2 separate regions of the Homo sapiens genome follow, and region 1 is linked to region 2. The links are contacts of gene promoters, found by promoter capture Hi-C in human tissues and cell types (Jung and others, 2019). All regions are on one chromosome and are shown on one strand. The core of a region is centred on a gene start or on the middle of the fragment in contact, and the rest is flanking DNA. Distances in the headings are between cores, read along the strand shown. Region 1 overlaps GOLGA8B (golgin A8 family member B). Region 2 holds the start of EMC4 (ER membrane protein complex subunit 4).

What was found. Contacts are between HindIII fragments. The study calls those that stand out against the background at their distance.
Region 1: a fragment that was not itself captured here is called in contact with the fragment with the promoter of EMC4 in region 2 in 1 of the 25 tissues and cell types used here (lymphoblastoid cells).

The regions. Positions count from the first base shown.
Region 1 is chr15:34,575,711-34,578,977 of GRCh38, forward strand. The region is part of intron 1 of GOLGA8B (golgin A8 family member B); the gene reads right to left. Among named protein-coding and RNA genes, the nearest start is that of GOLGA8B, 6.3 kb to the right of the region's middle. The HindIII fragment of the contact is 3,792 bases long and covers 1-3,229 here.
Region 2 is chr15:34,223,502-34,226,895 of GRCh38, forward strand. EMC4 (ER membrane protein complex subunit 4) reads left to right here and starts at 1,515. Exons shown (of 5, transcript NM_016454.4): 1 at 1,515-1,699; 2 at 2,035-2,149. The coding sequence starts at 1,614. RefSeq lists an enhancer at 1,829-1,878. The HindIII fragment of the contact is 15,250 bases long and covers 55-3,394 here.

The DNA.
Region 1 (3,267 bases), core at 84-2,583, 350 kb after region 2:
CCATGATCCACCCCAACCTACCGTGGGGCTCTCACATCTTCCAGATTGTGCCTCTCTAGGAGGGCCTTGGACCCAGAGCCAGAATGGGGCTCTGATGCCATTGCACATTCTCCAGCAACCCCTTCCATGCCCTCCCTCCTGATCCCACCCAGCTCTAAACTGGGAACAAGAAAGCTGGAATATAGTAGCTGCTTGGAAAATACCTACTGAGTGCATGGGTGGATAGATGGACAGTGCTCCAGGCAAAGGGACTCGGGGGTAAGAAAAGTGAAGGGTACCTGCTCCCGGTTGTACCACTGCAGAGTCCCTGAGTGTCAAAGGACTGAGAGGTGAATGACGGGACGGGCAAGGTGAGACCTACCAGGTTAGCGTCCCGCACCCCTTTGTTTCCACTATTAGATTAAGCCACCCTATGTGATGGATAAAAGGAGCAACACATACAAGGAGTTAGGCCAGGGTTGCCAAAGTGAGGGGTGGGAATGCTGCCAGTCCAGGGGTCCCCCACGGCAGCTCCCCAAATGAAGTCAAGACAAGTTGGAGATGAGGCTGCCTCTAGGTGTATCAAATCAACTGAAGTAGCACCAGTCCTCAGTGCTGATTAAGCACAGGCACGCCTGTGATCAAGAAGAAAACCATTACTTAATAAAATGCAATTAATTTAGAAGCTGAAAACTGCGAAAGCCCAAGGGAAAGACACAATCAGGAGTTCTTGGTCTGGAGGGGCTTCTGCTCTCAAAGCTTCCAACCCAACACAGCACAAAGACGTCTTCCCCAACAACCACACATCCCACCTGCAAAACGATGACATGCTCCTCTCCAGGTACCTGAACCTTAGGACTCAAAGGGTAGAGAAAGTTCACAGGCAGAATCTTCACAATACATGCACAAAAGAAAGGCACTTCTAGTAGGAGCTGTGGGTCAGGAAAACCTCGATTTCACCCAATGCCATTCCCGAGAGAATCAACCATCAATGTGACCCATTCAGTCCTGCCTCAGGGGCTCAGAATCTAGCAGTCAGGCCAGGTGGGAAGTGCAGGGACCTGTGGCCAAAATCGGTCCATTCATCACTCAGCTGACAGCTTTCACGCGTACCAGCCAGAATCAGTTAGAGGCTGGAGGTAGTGCCAAGTGTCTGAAACCCAGCAGGCAGGTTGGTAAAACACTCACACATCCTAACCCTGGTGACTGCACTGACTGACTGCTTTCCTGTAGCAGAACAGTTGCACACATCTCATCTCCTCCATCCATAATAACTCAGTGGCTGGTGAGGAATGGGACACAGACCTCCACGTGCCCTTCTTGGGATGAGTCAAGACAAACTCTGAGCAGTGACGCTCTACAGCTGGCTCACACGTGCAGGCAGAGCCTGGCTTCCCAGAGCTTCCAGTTCCTAACACATGCCTGGCCCCACTGCACCACACCCGTGACAGCTGCCACCAGCTCCGGATAATTCAGACAGATGCTAGAGCACATGGCTCACTTATTACACCAAAAGACTGAGAAACAGAAACTGTGTTTTAATTGCACAATGCACACACTTGCTTCCAGAGAGACCTGAGAAATCCATCATCCCTAAATGCATGCGGTTACTCAACTAGTGGCTTTACTATTTTTGAAACAATAGATTTTTCCAAGACAGCTGATAATCAAACCAACTGCGGGAAACCATAAACGATACTTGTTTATTAAATTAAGAACACATACAACAGTTCAGAGGAATCCATATTTAGAGCTGCCTTGCTGGAGAATCAATTCCAGGAATGCCAAACCAACCAAATGAAAAAAATTATATATCATACACACACACACACACACACACACACACACACACACACACACACACACACACAGATGCGTCACTTAATGACAGGGATGTATTCTGAGAAATTTATCATTAGGCAATTTCATCATTATGAGAACATCATAGAGCATACATTATACAAACCTACTACAACACACTAGGTTATAGGGTACAGCCTACTGCTCCTAGGCTGCAAACCTAGGCAGCATGTTACTGTGCTGAAGGTGTGTATCTAAACATAGAAAAGGCACAAAGTTAAAATATGCTATAAAAGATAAAACATGGTGCCCCTGTCTAGGGCACTTTCTATGAATGGACCTTCCATGAATGGAAGTTGCTCCGGTGAGTCAGTCTGTACACTAGTGCAGACTTTATAAACATTGTACAGTTAGGCTACATTTTTTTAAAAAATAAAGTAACTGCACTACAACTTTACGACAATGTCACTAGGCAATAGGAATTTTTGAGCCCCATGATATTCTTATGGGACCTCTGTCATATACGCTATCACTCACAAAAACAATGTCATGTGATGCATGACAGTACATATGTATCTCAACTGAAAATCCTAAATGTCAGTAGTGTTCTCTGACTCACTATTTACTAGTAAGTTTCCTCAGAACTGTCTTTGCCTGAGAGTTTCACAACCAAGCGTCTCTCTGCACAGTTGATTCTAGGGACAAGAAGTGCTAAGAATCCATGTTGGCTTCAAGTGCAAAATGGAAAACACCTTAGTGTCCCACCAACCATGTTAGCCACCTTCCTGGAGGGCAAGCTCCCACGCCCTTTCCCCATCGCTGTGAAGAGCTCACGTCATCTGTGGCATTTCCATAACTCTCCGATGCCAGCCATCAGTCTCTCAGCACGTGTTGAAAATTAGCCCCTGTACTTGCCCACCAATGGTCATAAGTCCTAGTCATGCCCACCCCGTTAAAAACAAATCTGATACAAAATGGGCCCCAGCAGGAGACAGAGAGAAAACATGGGCCTCACACTCTCTCCAGCTCAGGCTCAAAGGCCAGCACTGCCCCGTCACAGCAGAGTGCTCTTAGGCAACCCATAGCTCAGCTACCTGTCCCCAGCCTCCTCGTCGCGAAGTTAAGACAAGACCTGCCTTCTGGATTTGTAGGGAAATTATTTAAAATGACAAACAAAGAGGGATGGAACTCAACACACAGAATTGCCCGATGATGCGTGTTTCATTCCAGTGGTTTCGCCATGAAAACCATCTTTAAATGTTGGAGTGTTTCCGTTTCCAGACAACTAGAGATGAAAATATTTCCACAGTCACTCAACGCAGGTATCTCAACCACATATTTTTTTCTCTTAATTTTGATCCTTGAAACACAAAACAACAGATGCACCACCTTACATTAAAACAGCCCTTTAGAGTTTATGACAGGCCTCCTCTGCATTCTCTCACTAGGCCGTAGCTGTAACTCACAAACCTGACCCTTAAAACTCCC
Region 2 (3,394 bases), core at 265-2,764:
ATAACCTAGCACTTTGGGAGGCCGAGGCAGGCAGATCACCTGAGGTCGGGAGTTCGAAACCAGCCTGACCAACACGGTGAAATCCCATCTCTACTAAAAATACAAAATTAGCTGGACGTGGTGGCGTGCGCCTGTAATCCCTGGTACTCGGGAGGCTGAGGCAGGAGAATTGCTTGAACCCGGGAGACGGAGGTTGCAGTGAGCCGAGATAGTGCCATTGCACTCCAGCCTGGGCAACAAAAGCAAAACTCCGTCTCGAACAAAAACACAAACAAACCAAACACCAGATATGTGGTGGGCACTAATCTCACAAGCCTTGAAAGTAGGTAGATTATCCAACTTTTACATGAAGAGGCTGAAACAAATTCAACTTGCCCAAGGTCATACAATTATTAAGTGGTGAAACCAGGATTCAAAAGGAGGCCATCTGCTGGGTGCAGTGGCCCATGCCTTTGTAATCTCAACATTTTGGGAGGCCAAGGCAGGAGAATCACTTGAACCCAAGAGTTTGAGAGCAGCCTGAGCAACATAGCGAAACCCTGTCAAAACAAAACAAAACAAAACAAAACAAGACTGGGGCGTGGTGGCGCGCCCTGTGGTCCTAGCTCCTCGGAACGCTCAGGTTGGAAGGAACGCTCAGGTGGGAAGATCGCTTGAGCCGGGGAAGTCGAGGCTGCAGTGAGCCGTGATAGCGCCACTGCACTACAGCCTCGGCAACGGAGTGAAACCCTGTCTCAAAAAACAAACCCAAAACAAACAACAACAAACGCAGGCTAACTGAATACCGAGCCCATGTCCCCTTCCATGCCCACAATGCTGCCTTGCCTTTGTGCAGAATGTGGTTAGAACTGTTTACCTCGCAAGGTTACTGTGCAAGTGAAATGAAATAAACACATGACACAGTGGACATTCAATACTCAGAAACTACTAAGTAACTCGCTCAAGGTCAAGCTAGGATTTAAACCCAGGATTTGAATCTTTTGTTCCAGGGAGCGCGTAGGAGGTTAAGAAGCTTTTCTTGGCTTCCTTTTTTTTTTTTTTGAGACAGAGTTTCGCTCTTGCTGCCCAGGCTGGCGTGCAATCGCTCGGTCTCAGTTCACTGCAACCTCCGGCTCCCGGATCCAAGCGATTCTCCTGCCTCAGCCTCCTAAGTAGCTGGGATTACAGGCGCCCGCCACTAAGCCCGGCTAATATTTTGTATTTTTAGTAGAGACGGGGTTTCACCATGTTAGCCAGGCTGGTCTCGAACTCCTGACTTCAGGTGATCCGCCCACCAATTCTTAACGCTGAGTCAGTATGGGCTTTCCTTCAGCCCCATAAAGTGCACCTCAGAGGTCAGGGAACACATAACAAGGACATTCAAAAGGGGAGCGCGCGGAAGTGGCTTTAGGAAGCACTAAGTCTTGCCTGGTTTTTTTTCCTCCCTGCTTTTCTAAATCCAAACCCGGACTCCTCAACCCACAGCACCACCAATTTCCAGGGCGGAAATGACGTCGTATTCACGCGCCGGAAGTGCATTTGCAGAGTGAGACAAAGCGGAGAACGCTGGTGGGCCTGTTGTGGAGTACGCTTTGGACTGAGAAGCATCGAGGCTATAGGACGCAGCTGTTGCCATGACGGCCCAGGGGGGCCTGGTGGCTAACCGAGGCCGGCGCTTCAAGTGGGCCATTGAGCTAAGCGGGCCTGGAGGAGGCAGCAGGTGAGGCACCTGGGCAAGCTGTACATCACTGTTCATCCCAGAACTGCACCAGAGTAATGAGACCTGAGCCCTCAGGCATAACTCTGAAAAAGATGGGTGGCACACAGACATCACCTGGGGAGGTAGCGGCTTTTCTGCCGTGGAAGTTTCTCTGCTCAAACAATGCTTACATCAGTCCTCCTGATAAGTCAAAGGACTGAGGAACATACGAGGGGGCTTGGTCTAATCTGAGTAGGTGCATCTGAAGATCTTTATTCCTATGATTGGTAGATCAGGAAATGTGGGATAAGAAGTATCGGAGGTTGCAGCTTTAGTTTCTTGGTTTGGTTTTTTAGGGGTCGAAGTGACCGGGGCAGTGGCCAGGGAGACTCGCTCTACCCAGTCGGTTACTTGGACAAGCAAGTGCCTGATACCAGCGTGCAAGAGACAGACCGGATCCTGGTGGAGAAGGTACAGAGGTATAGATGTTACCGTAGCCCATGGGCCAGTCCTGAGTTACACACTCATCCTCTTCTCCTAGGTGGAGTTAACGTAGATAGCTCTTATCCTGAAGATTTGGAAACTAAACTGCTTGAGGCTGGTATTTCGGTATTTTATATATCAGCTACAAAAGTGCTTAATAATTTGAAAAATAGAAGATGTTTGGAACATAAGGTATAAGAAAGTAGGTTGAAAACTATCTTTTGGTGGCAACATCTTCCAGTTGAAGTGATCCTTTTTCTACTCTGGTTCCCTTACACCACATATCCAACTGTCAGGATACTCTGTTGGCTTTACCTACTACTTTTTCCTGTGTTCACCTCTCATCCTAATCCAAGCCACCATCCTTCATCTAGATTTCTGCAGTAGCCCGGCTAATTTTTGTATTTTTAGTACAGACAGGGTATCACCATGTTTGCCAGGCTGGTCTTGAACTCCTGACCTCAGGTGATCCATCCGCCTTGGCCTTCCAAAGTGCTGGGATTGCAGGCATGAGCCACCGCGCTCGGCCCGGGGCTATTTATATTTCTAATTTCTCCTGTCATTTTGTTACATTTTTTCTAGAAACTTATCCATTTCCTAAAATTTCAAATGTATTGATATAAAGTTGTTCATAATATGATCACTTCCATATATGCAAGATCTGTGATGTTCATTTTTTCATTCCTGATATTGAATATTTTGTCTCCTCTCCTTTCTTCATCAGGCTCACCAGTATTGATTTTTTAAAAATTATTTTCATTTATTTTTACAGGTCACTGTACCCATCACCAGTATTGATTTTATTAATCTTTTCAAAAATACTTGGGTTTTTTTCTAGTTTCTTGAAATGGATGCTTAGTTTATTTTTAGACTGCCATTACTTTTTTTCTTTTCTTTTGAGACAGTCTTGCTGTTGTCGCCGAGGCTGGAATGCAATAGCACGACCTTGGCTCACTGCAACCTCTGCCTCCCAGGGTCAAGCAATTCTCCTGCCTCAGCCTCCCGAGTAGCTGGGATTATAGGCACCCACCACCACGTCCAGCTAATTTTTTTGTATTTTTAGTAGAGACGGGGTTTCACCACGTTGGCCAGGCTGGTCTGAAACTCCTGACCTCAGGTGATCCACCAAGCTCGGCCTCCCAAAGTGCTGGGATTACAGGTGTGAGGCACCGCGCCCGGCCACATTGCCATTACTTTTAATGGCAACAACCGCAGTTACTTTTGCAGCAACCT